3 separate regions of the Homo sapiens genome follow, and regions 1 and 2 are each linked to region 3. Evidence: promoter capture Hi-C in 16 types of primary human blood cells and fetal thymus (Javierre and others, 2016). All regions are on one chromosome and are shown on one strand. The core of a region is centred on a gene start or on the middle of the fragment in contact, and the rest is flanking DNA. Distances in the headings are between cores, read along the strand shown. Region 1 holds the start of PCMTD1 (protein-L-isoaspartate (D-aspartate) O-methyltransferase domain containing 1). Region 2 holds the start of MTDH (metadherin). Region 3 holds the start of PEX2 (peroxisomal biogenesis factor 2).

Region 1 (3,508 bases), core at 673-3,172, about 25 Mb after region 3:
ATGGAGAGAAAACAGGGGAAACGGCTGTAAGAGTTGTTTAATGATTTTAGCTATTTTCCTTAGATTACCATTTGTACTTTTTTTGTTTGTTTATGGTAAGATAGTTTTCATGTGCCAAAATTTCTGCTTGGACTAACAGAAAATTCATCCTGTAAGATTGTTATATGATCCCACAACGGTTAGGAGTGCCCTGGGTCCAGGCAGAAATCCAAAGATGGAGCTAATAATGTGACCCGCAGCTCTACTCCAGAATGCAGATGAATAGAGATTTTGAACAGTTCGGAGCTCAATGTCCACTGAATATGCACTCATACTTTAAACCTAAATAAAGTGAAGCCTTTGAGTTAAATGGCAGAGCGCCTCAGCAGCAATTTTGCTCGTTTTCAAGTTCTTATTTCGTGATTTGAAGCTTTTGACCTTGCTAGCATGTTCTTTCTGAACGCTTTTGCAGATGGTTGGTTATGGTGGGGAGTAGTAACCCTAGCATAAAGACGTTCTAATTCTAACTTACCTTAGGTAACCTATAAGGGTAGCTTACGCTCACTCTCATACTTGAAAATCAAAACCGAACAGAATTCACACGATGGAAGCAAATCATGCTACAACCTACTATTAGAGACTGAAGGGAAACGCACAAAGATTAATGAACAACAAAGAACACTTCAAAAAGTACAGTATTTGGAAAAGACATGCCTTTATGTACACTAAAACTAATTTAAAAAATTAAATGCAGTTTGCTAGGAGTCTTACAAGTATTAACAGCATGTTCACTGCTTAGGATCCTTAGTAGCAATATTTTCCCGGCTCGCCTGCCCCTATGCCTCATTTCCTCTTCTTTTTTTTTTTGAGATGGAGTTTCGCTCTTGCCGCCCAGGCCAGGTGCCATCTCAGCACTGCAACCTCCGACTCCCGGGTTCAAGCGATTCTCCTACCTCAGCCTCCCGAGTTGCTGGGACTACAGGCGCACGGCACCACACCCGGCTAATTTTTGTATTTTTAGTAGAGACGGGGTTTCACCATGTAGGCCAGGCTGGTCTCTAAGTCCTGACCTCAGGTGATCCGCCTGTCTCGGCCTCCCAAAGTGCTGGGATGACAGGCGTGAGCCACTCACCCGGCCCTCTTCTCGACTTTCTATCCCTCCTCCTCAACACCCTTTCCTTCTGGAAATGGGCTTTGGGGTGGTTAACCAAGCCCAGGGAAACTTGCGTGGCCCAGCATCTTCCGTCCGCTGCAGGAGGAGCACACGCCCCCGGCCCGGGTCAGCAAGACGCGAGAAAGCGGCCACGCCGGGCGTCCGGGAGCTGAGGCTGGAGGGCGCCTGGCAGGCAGGGCGGGGCCCAGGCGGCGGGAGTGCTTATGACCGGCGCTGGGGGGAACTTCTGGACGTCAAGGGGCCACTATAAAGCGGCACAGTCTTGAGCCTTCGCTCTTCACCTAAGTCAGTGAGCGCCCTTCGCAAAGCCTCTGTGGAGGTAACCATTGGGGGTTCGCCTCCAAATCCAGGAATGCACCTCAAAAATGCTCCTACACCGTAAGACCGTGTCCTTCAATGCAAAGGGGACTGTGCGGCGAGGCACCGACAAGCCGTAGCCCTGAGACCACTGAAAGCCTGCACCCCAGCGCCGGTGCGAGAACGTGGAGATGGCGGTGGGGAGGAGAGGTGGAGGCCATGCTCTCGCGTGATCTCCCCTACCGCCATCGTCTTCTGGCCTGTCAAGGCCTCGCGTTGTTTGGGCTTGGGGGCGGAGCGAGCCCTGAGGGGGGCGGGGCCAGATGGGGGCGTCTCCCGGCCTTGTTGACTTTGGCGTCCGCGGGGAGCTGCCCCTGTGCCCGTGGTTCTCTGCGCATGCCCGGACCCCGGCGGCTCCGGAGTCCGGGAGGCTCTGGCTGCTCCAGTCGCGGGTCCGGGCCCCGCCTCTCCACTCGGCGGTGGCGTCCGTGTTGTTATTGTGGTGGTAGCGGCGTCTGGCTGCTGCGGACCCCGCCGAGTCCTAGCGCCTGGCCTGCGCGCCGCTGCCCGCGCCACAGGTAACGCCGCCGCCAGTGGGGGCTCGGGGTCGTGGGGTGTGCGAGTCCCGCGTGCTAGGGCCGGGCGGGCGACTGGGATGCGCTTGGAGGCCAGAGGGCCAGGGGGACGGCAGCCGAAGAGTCGGGGGCAGGGGGACTTAAGGGCGGGCAGGTCGGGGGCCAGGAAACTGAGGCGCTGCGGGGCAGGTTGGGGGAAGGACGGGCCGGGGGCGGAGGACTTGGGAGGTCGGGGAGTCGAAAGGGGCCCAGCGAAGCCTGGAGGTCGGGAGCCGGGGTCCCTGGGGCCGGGGAGGTCGGGGGCCCGAGGGAGGCCGGGGCGCCGCGTCCTCGGCCCGTCCTCGGCTCGTCCTCGGCTCTGACCTGGGCTTGGGGACCAGAGTCCCGAGGCTGGCGTCTTGAGATGCCCGCGGGCCCCTTAGGGCCGTTTTGGATCCGCCCAGTGACTTCTGTTTTGGTTTTGGAGGCAGAGAATCCAGTCTACGTAGACTCGGGGAAGTCTCGGGGGCTGGGAGGGGACTGAGAGGTTATAGCAGGCGCCAAGGCCTCTTTTTGTGTTTTTGAGCGTCTACTACCGTTCCGGGGAAGTGCAGTGCCCGCGTTTTGCTTGGGGAATTTCAGACACCGGCATGGGGAGGACCCACGGGCAGAACCCGAGGGAGTAATTTTGCAAATCCAAGATTTTTTGGAACTTCTATAATTTTGTTTTCGTGTGTCCTCTTTTTAGAATCGAGAAACCAGAGATATATTTTTAACATTACAAATCAGAAGAATTTGCTACGGAGGAAAAAAGTATGCTTTTAGCAGTGTTTTTCCCCTATTTATTTTTTTAATTACAAAAGTACTGCTTGCTCCTTGAGAAAAACATGAAGCAGCCAAACAATGAGGAAACCTGCCCTCTCTCGCGCCCTTCCCCCCATATTTCTCCTTCTTACTACCCAGGGTAGCCAGTCTCCAAGTGTGGTGGGTAGTTATTCAGGATTTTTTTTTTCTGTGCATTTAATGAGTGTGCTTTAGAAACAAGATTGGGATCATATATAGTACAGTATATCGTTTTATTAGCCAACAATGCATCATGGATATTCCTCCATTTTATTACACACCTCATTATTTTAAAAAACATTATTACTATGTATTAGAGAATCCAATCTACGTAGGCTTGGGGAAGCCTTTTCTTCATTGTTAAACATGGTCGCCAAGTTTTCAATAATCAGTAGCTTTGAAAAGGGCTACAAGCCAATATTTTGAAACAATGTGGCAAAACTTTCAGAATGTCTGCGGCCAGACGACATTACTTTCGTATTAAGCAGATTAATATGTTTACGTATTGCTTAATGGTAGTTTACATGAGGCTAGATGACTCCATAAAACATAAAGTTGCTGAATTAGTTTACTTTTTGGTTTTTTTTATTTCATTTTTTTCTAAGTAAATTTTAATTCCATATGGTCAGTTGAACACTTGTAATTTCTTTAACATGAAGTA
Region 2 (3,621 bases), core at 811-3,310, about 21 Mb before region 3:
CAGGCCTCATAATGCACTAACTGTGACCTGTCACATCTCTAATCTAGAGATTAGAGTTTGTTACCAACAAAACTCTTGTTAGTTGGAACTCAAACCCCATTTCCTCCAACAACTTTCCTAAAGCCCTCCAGTGAAATGTCTCCTACCCTCCAAACCTCATTAACACTCAGTTAAAACCTCTTTAACACCTATCAGTCTATGCAAAATTCTAATTATTTATGAATCTGTCTCCACTACTCTCCAACACTGACTCTACGTGTATACCTTGCACTGCCCTCCAAACACCAGAGTGCAAATTTCACATGGTAGGGCCTTCGTACTGGCTTACTGAATTGTACTGAAAAGGTGAAGATCTTAATTCGCTGGATATAAAAATAGGTTAGGTGCTGTTTCTAACTCTGCATACCCTCCATAGTCTCAATTTGCTCAAATGTAAAATATTTTTAAAAATACATAAAACTATGAAAGATATAATGGGAGAACCATGGGAATGGCAATAAAGAATGTAAACGTAAAACATGAAGGCCTAAGACAGACGTGATGCCCTCTGCAACTTCCACACGTGGCCCAGTAAATCGGTGCCTGAATTCCTCTCTCGGCTTTCACCATTCTGCCCTGTCATCTCCCTTTACTCTATTTCACAAATCTACCACGCCACAGAGTGTGCAACAGACTCGTTCGTTGAACTCGCCTTAGCTCTTTCTCACAGGACCATACACCTCAAAGCGTATTAGGTAACCGACCCCCTCTTGCCTTGCTCCCGTTCCGGCCTCTGTTGGCCACATTTGCCAGAACAAGAATGGGCAACCATTTCCCTTTAACAGTCCCAACTAAAATGGAAGCGCGTCTAGACCTGGACACCTTTAATCCTGTGTAAGCCCCAGAATTTCTAGGTCACCGCACTTCTTCCACTGCCTACTGTCTCAATGTGACTTGAGATAGACATCTGTCTTCCGAGCGCAGTCTTTATACAACTTCCTAACACCACCTTAAGGTCCCATTACGCTCCACATGCAGCCTACTCTGCAGGCCTCAAGGAAGGATGCTGTGCTTATTCTAGCGGTGACGGTTCCCAAAGATGGCTTGACCTCTGGGCGCCTATCTGAACGGACCCCCAGACCTCCTAACTTCCTTCCTCGAAACTGGGCTTCCCCACTCGTCCTATACTTCCTGAGTTCCCCCCATTCCCCAAATAACATGACCACCTATCACCTCCTCCTCCACTTGGGAGTGCTGCCTCTCGGCTTTCGACTAAGCACTCTTTTCCTTCCCGGCTGGGGCGCGGCCTCCCCCAAGCTCGAGGGTCTCCACGCCCGCCCTTCGCCCGTTCTCTACTGCCGCTCATCCCATACTCACTTTGGGCTTCTCGGACAGTTTCTTCCGGTTCTTCTTCTTCTGTTCCTCGCTCCGGAGATTCTTCAGCAAGGCCAGGTCGTCGGGGGCCGCGGCCGGCACGGCCGCCGCCTCCTCCCGCTTGCGGGGCGGGCTCCTCCGCTTTTTGCGGGCGCCGGCGCAAGCCGCGGCCCAGCCGTAGCCCAGCAGAAACAGCAGCAGCAGCCCGAGCGCGCCAGTGCCCACCAGGATCACCCAGCCGGGGTACCGTTTCGGCTCCAGCCCCAGGTCGAGGCCCAGCTCGGTGCGCAGAAAGCCTAGGCCGACCGAGAGCATTTCCCGCAGCCGGGCCGAGCCCTCCTCGGCCTGCTGGGCCAGCTCGTCCTGCCAGCTCCGTGCAGCCATCTTCCCTCCCGTCAGAGGGACTCGCAGGATGACGCCGGGGCGCGGAGACGCAGTGGAATAGTCGAGGGAAGCGAGGAAGGGCCGGGCCGGGTAACCTCAGGCCGAGCGCATCGCGGCCGTCCCTCGCGCCGGAGCCGGGGATCGGCCGCTGCCACCGCGGGGAGGGCGGAGGGGTCTCCCAGGTTCCCCGCTGTCAGCCTCACTCCGCCGCCGCCAGGAGACCCGGGAGGCGGGAGGGAGTGTCTCCAGTGGCGGCCGCTAAGCGGCGTCTCGGCGCCAGCGCCAGGCCCCGCTGTCCTCCCTCGGCGGAACAATGGCGGCTTGGGCCGCGATCCACGCCGCGCGCGGGGACGACCGTGGGTCACGTGGGCGCCAGTGGGCGGGGCGTGGGCGTCACGTGGGGGCGGGCGGGGTCGGGTGGGGCAAAGGCGTGTCAGGGAAGGTTGGCGGTGGTCGGTTCGGGCCTGGTTAAGACGCGGCGTTGGGGACCCGTTACTGTAGACCAGAAGCTGGGAGGGGTTAATTGGTGGACGCCTTCGCGGGGTGGCTGGTGGCGCAGAGTTAGGAGACGTGGCGCAACGAATGAGTACAGAGGAGGGGCTCCGTGCAAGGCGGGGGCGGGCGGGGGGCGGGTAGGGCTGCAGCGCTAGGAACCGGGTCACCGGGTCTAGGTCAAAGTCGCCCTGGCAGGTATAGGGCTCTTCATGCCTTTTTCTGGAGTGTTATTGAGGTGGAATCGCTTTTTCTCCCTGGTGGCGCCAGTTGGATCCTTCCAGAATGAGCTCAACGGAGTCTGACGCCGAACACTGTTCTTCCGGGACCTAGGTTTAGTTCACAAATTGGGTATTTCTCTCCAGGGTGTTTCTCTCCAGGGCAACTAATACACTGCGTGCCTACCAGTTGCCAGCCTGGCGAGGGCACGTTTGCGTCGTTTGGCTCATTCACTCTTGCTCTCTGTTGTTAGTCCCCAGAATTCAAAAGTTGGAAAGCCCGTGGGCGGCACTATTCTTTTCCTACTAATTTGTAGCTTTAATAACACATAAGGGGAAGCACATTAGATTGTATTTACTTATGGAGGGAGCTTTCTCGTTACGTTTTATTTTAAGCTTTTCTACAACACTGCAAAAGGGGTTTGCAAAAATTCCATTTTTATATGCTATGTTGACCATCTCTGGGATGCAGCTATAGAAGGAAACGAACTGCCTTTTCAAATTTTTTTTTTTTGAGACAAGAGTCTCGCTCTGTCGCCCGGGCTGGAGTGCAGTGGCACTATCTCCGCTCACTGCAAGGTCCGCCTCCTGGGTTCAAGCCATTCTCCTGCCTCAGCCTCCCGAGCAGCTGGGACTATAGGCACCCACCACCACGCCCGGCTAATTTTTTGTATTTTTAGTAGAGACGGGGTTTCACCGTGTTAGCCAGGATGGTCTTGATCTCCTGACCTCGTGATCCGCCCACCTCAGCCTCCCAAAGTGCTGGGATTACAGGCGTGAGCCACCACGCCAGGCCTTCAGGTTTTAATTATAAGGGAAATGCTTGAAGGCTGCCTTAGGGTTTTAAGATTATATTTTGCTATAAGGAAACTCTGTATTTTATCGGTAAATGATCATTAGCGTGTAAGCAACTGTCTTAAGTGAACTAAATACAGGCTTTCTCAAGGAATACAGCAGGGGTAATATTAATAACCACCAAATACCAAAAATGTATTTTGACCTATTTTGCAACAGTGTCGTAATGCATATTGTGATTCATGTGTGGAAGGGAGTTTTGTAAATAATAAATAATAAAAGCATACTACACTTGCCAAGACTTATGATTAAAGACTAAATTAAATTAGGAGGCCAAAAACTTAGCAAATGTTATTGGGATCTGCTTTAACTCAAAGTT
Region 3 (3,415 bases), core at 507-3,006:
AAATATGATTCAAGTTTCTTGATATCTTTATTATTTTCATTCGCTACTGTGTGATGTTCACATGACATACATAAGGCTCTATGAACCAGAATTTGCTTTCTGAAAATGTCCTCTATGTCAATCAAGTCTTTGTGTGTATTTTCCCCCGTCCCTCTCAAAAATTAAGTGAAGCACAGCACATCTGTAGGCTACCTGAGAGGTGCAGCGTGGTTGGTTTTCTTCACAGTTGCTAAACGAAAGGCCTACTCTTCTTCAGTGAGATTTTTTTACTCTCTAGAACAGCAGTATCCATAGAAATATAATGGAAGCCACGTAATTTAAAATTTTCCAAAACATTCTCATTTTGACATGTAAGCAATATAAAATTAATGAAATACTTTACATTCTTTTTCTTTTCAGACCACGCTTTAGAAATCTGGTGCATGTTCTACACTTAGAGCAGACCTCAGTTCAGACTAGCCACTTTTCAGGTGGCCAGTGACTACTACACTGGACAGTTGCAGCTCTAGAAAATCCACTCCCAAACCCCTAAGTGAACTACATACTCTATCAATTTGTAGCTTCTACTCTATCTCATTTGTACCATTGTTTCACAATTTGGATAGCATTAGAGTTAATAAATTTTATTTTAGCAACTCTGCTCCATGGGTAGTTTCTGAAATAAAAATACAAGCAAAAAAAAAAAAACTTTCCTAATAACACTGGTTCTACAGTATAAGCTCTCCCTCGAATGTCTAATAGAGCTTTCGTAGAAGTGAGTGTTCCTTGTAGGAACGGTGAGTCGAGACTGGAGGTAAGAACTAAGACGTTCTTAAACCCTACTACGTGCTGGAATCCTGAAGTGCCTGCCATCATTCAAACTTAAGCACTAACTCTCTAGAGAGACACTGCCATTCATACCACAGAACGAGAAGGCAGTGGCGATCCTCAACGGCTACATGTCACTGCCTGGTGAGCACTCTTCCCTCAGACCCCATTCCCAGAAGCTCTGCCTCGATTCCCCAGGGGTAGGCGAGCTGGCTGCCCGAATTCCTAAGCGTTACCGGGGAGATGTGAGGGCCTCCGGGGGCGGGAAACCTCAGGCCAGGCGCGCGCTGGCCCGCTCTACGGGGTCTCTCGGGAGCGCTTTGCAGGGCGGATGACTGACGGGCCAGCTACCTGCCTTCCTGAGCCTGCAGAGATAAACAGCCTATCCTCCCTGTGCACACAGGCCCCGAGGGCGGGCAGGTCTCCAAGCGCAGCACAACTGCCCCAGGCCCGACGCAGCCACCTGCCCGAGGGCTCCCTCCCCACCAGGCCATCCCTCAGCCGGTCCTCCTCCGACAGCGAACAAGGAACCCCGGAGGCGCGGAGGCGTCTCGCCGCCACCCGGCGGCGCCTGCCAGAGGCCCTTCGCGATGTCCGCAAGCAGAGAAAGCCCTGCCCTCCCAAGCCCCGGCTTCCCCTAGGCCCCTCGACACTTGTAGTGTCCTCACTTGCGGCCCCTGACCCGGGGCTGACCGGTTCGTGACTCTCCTGCCAATCAGAGACAGAGTTCTTCCGGCCAACCGGCCAATCACCGCGCGCGGGTGTCCGCTTCGGCTTTTCGGCCCTTCGGCTCTTCGGCTTGTCGGCGTTCGCGGTTGTTTGGCCATCCAGTGCCTTCAGCAGCGCCGCTAAAGCGCAGTTCTCGTTGGTGTAACTTTTTCTTTTTTTTTTCAGCCACTTCCGGCTCCTGCGTCGCTCCGGAAGCCTGCGAGTTCCGGAAGCCTTGGTAATCCAGATTCGGCTAGGAAAAGACAAGCTTTCCAGAGAATGTTTCAGAGAAAGTTACGTGGAGCGTGGGCGTTTCGCAGACTCCTAAGGTCAGTGTCTGCCCTAGAGAGCCGGAGTGCAAACCCGAGGTCTTGTTTTCAGCTGGGAGGTCGTGGAGTTTCACGACCTTGTAATTGTCGCCGTTTGCTTTTTTTTCCCTGTTTATTGGCTTCCTGTCTCCCTGGAAAAGGCAAATCAAAGCTGCTGAATTTTGGGAAAGGCAGTGAAGCAAACCTAAACTCCTAAAGATGTTTTTAGGATCGCGGCATTAAAAATAAACACACACACAGCTGCAGTTGAGCCCCTCTGCATTCCACGTAGTAACTTAAGAGACGAACTTCGAAATCTTTTTCTCTCATTTGGCGGTCGTGAAGATATTTACCTCTTATAAACGGCTTTATAAAGAATTGAGGATCCAAACTTTACTTAATATCTGAAAGTTCATGTAAAGTGTTATATGTAGTACAAAAAATTTGAGTGCTTAGTTTTCTAACACTGTTGAAAGCGCACGTAAATGCAGTTTGGTTTTCTTATGGAGGAAGAGATAATGAAAAGTTTCTGATAAAATTGCTTGCGATAAATTAGTTATATTTCACGTTGACTTTTGATAAGAAATCTGAATGTGAGAATTGTTAACATTTTTTCCTGGGTTCTTAAATTAAAAATCGTTGTTTGTTTATTTATTGAGGTACCATTTTCCAAATTTCCCACATTTAGTGAAAGGGCTTTTGGCAAAATGAGCAAGCTGTTGAACGTTCAAGTCTAACACATTCTGTTAAACTTCCGTGATGCCCCTCGGAAATATTTTATCTTGACGTTTCGGACAATTAAATGATACTTGGGCGCTCACAACACCGCAGCTTGTAGTCTAAACACCTTCCCCTAAAGTGTTACCTTTACTTAATCCTGAACAGAATGAACTTGGGGTGGCTCTTTTAACTTATCTGATCTCACCTATATTATCAATTACTTGTTTCCAGAAAGATTACAGTTGAGTGATCTTGAGCCAGAAAGAGATTTGAAAGAATTATTTACAGAGTCAAAAAAAAAAACCCTTCATATTTTTTTCTTAAAAAAAAAAATAGAAGTAACAGGACATAGAGCGAATACTAGACTAGTAGACTGAAGAGTATTAGACTAAATCAAGACAGTTGGATTCTAGTCCTGACTCTAGTTGCCTTTGTACAATTTTACCTCTTGGCCGTATTCTCCTTATTTTTAGAAACTAGTGTTAGTACTCAAGCTGGGGTTTTAAAACTGTTCCATAGGAGAACTTGTGTAGAAATTTTCTGGAGCCGTGCAGGGAGAGACAAAGCAAGCCCACCCTCAGGTTTATTTTAACAAGAGCAGCCATTTAGGTGTTCCGCTTGAATAACAAGGTTCTTGTTAAGAAGATTAAATTTATGTCTTAAACGAGATGATCTGCCTTTTCTTCTAGCATTAAAATTCTGGTTTTTGGGATAATTATTCATTTGTACTCAATGTACATTTATTACAGTTTTTAAAAATAATATATTCACAGCTAATTTATTTCTAAAAGCTACAAATATGTCCCTATTCTGTTTCAATTTATTTTATCAATACAAATTTGAAATGTTTTTCTTTATGAACAGAATTAGAA

The links. The method cuts DNA at HindIII sites, captures the fragments that hold promoters and counts their contacts. A CHiCAGO score of 5 or more calls a contact.
Region 1: the fragment with the promoter of PCMTD1 here is called in contact with the fragment with the promoter of PEX2 in region 3 in 2 of 17 cell types (total CD4 T cells and naive CD8 T cells); the score reaches 8.8 in total CD4 T cells.
Region 2: a contact is called between the fragment with the promoter of MTDH here and the fragment with the promoter of PEX2 in region 3, in 3 of 17 cell types (total B cells, fetal thymus and total CD4 T cells). The highest score is 9.8, in total B cells.

The regions. Positions count from the first base shown.
Region 1 is chr8:51,897,450-51,900,957 of GRCh38, reverse strand. It overlaps PCMTD1 (protein-L-isoaspartate (D-aspartate) O-methyltransferase domain containing 1), which reads left to right and starts at 1,922. Exons shown (of 6, transcript NM_052937.4): 1 at 1,922-2,028. PCMTD1-DT (PCMTD1 divergent transcript) reads right to left here and starts at 1,643. Exons shown (of 4, transcript NR_189279.1): 1 at 1,112-1,643. RefSeq lists enhancers at 806-865, 1,166-1,225, 1,396-1,685 and a silencer at 1,726-2,415. The HindIII fragment of the contact is 4,691 bases long and covers 412-3,508 here.
Region 2 is chr8:97,642,623-97,646,243 of GRCh38, reverse strand. It overlaps MTDH (metadherin), which reads right to left and starts at 2,060. Exons shown (of 12, transcript NM_178812.4): 1 at 1,357-2,060. The coding sequence starts at 1,737. RefSeq lists silencers at 931-1,099, 1,383-1,452, 1,723-2,182, 2,363-2,472 and enhancers at 251-1,229, 1,230-2,210. The HindIII fragment of the contact is 3,502 bases long and covers 1-2,845 here.
Region 3 is chr8:76,998,419-77,001,833 of GRCh38, reverse strand. It overlaps PEX2 (peroxisomal biogenesis factor 2), which reads left to right and starts at 1,756. Exons shown (of 4, transcript NM_000318.3): 1 at 1,756-1,844. RefSeq lists an enhancer at 1,467-1,761. The HindIII fragment of the contact is 1,935 bases long and covers 1-1,785 here.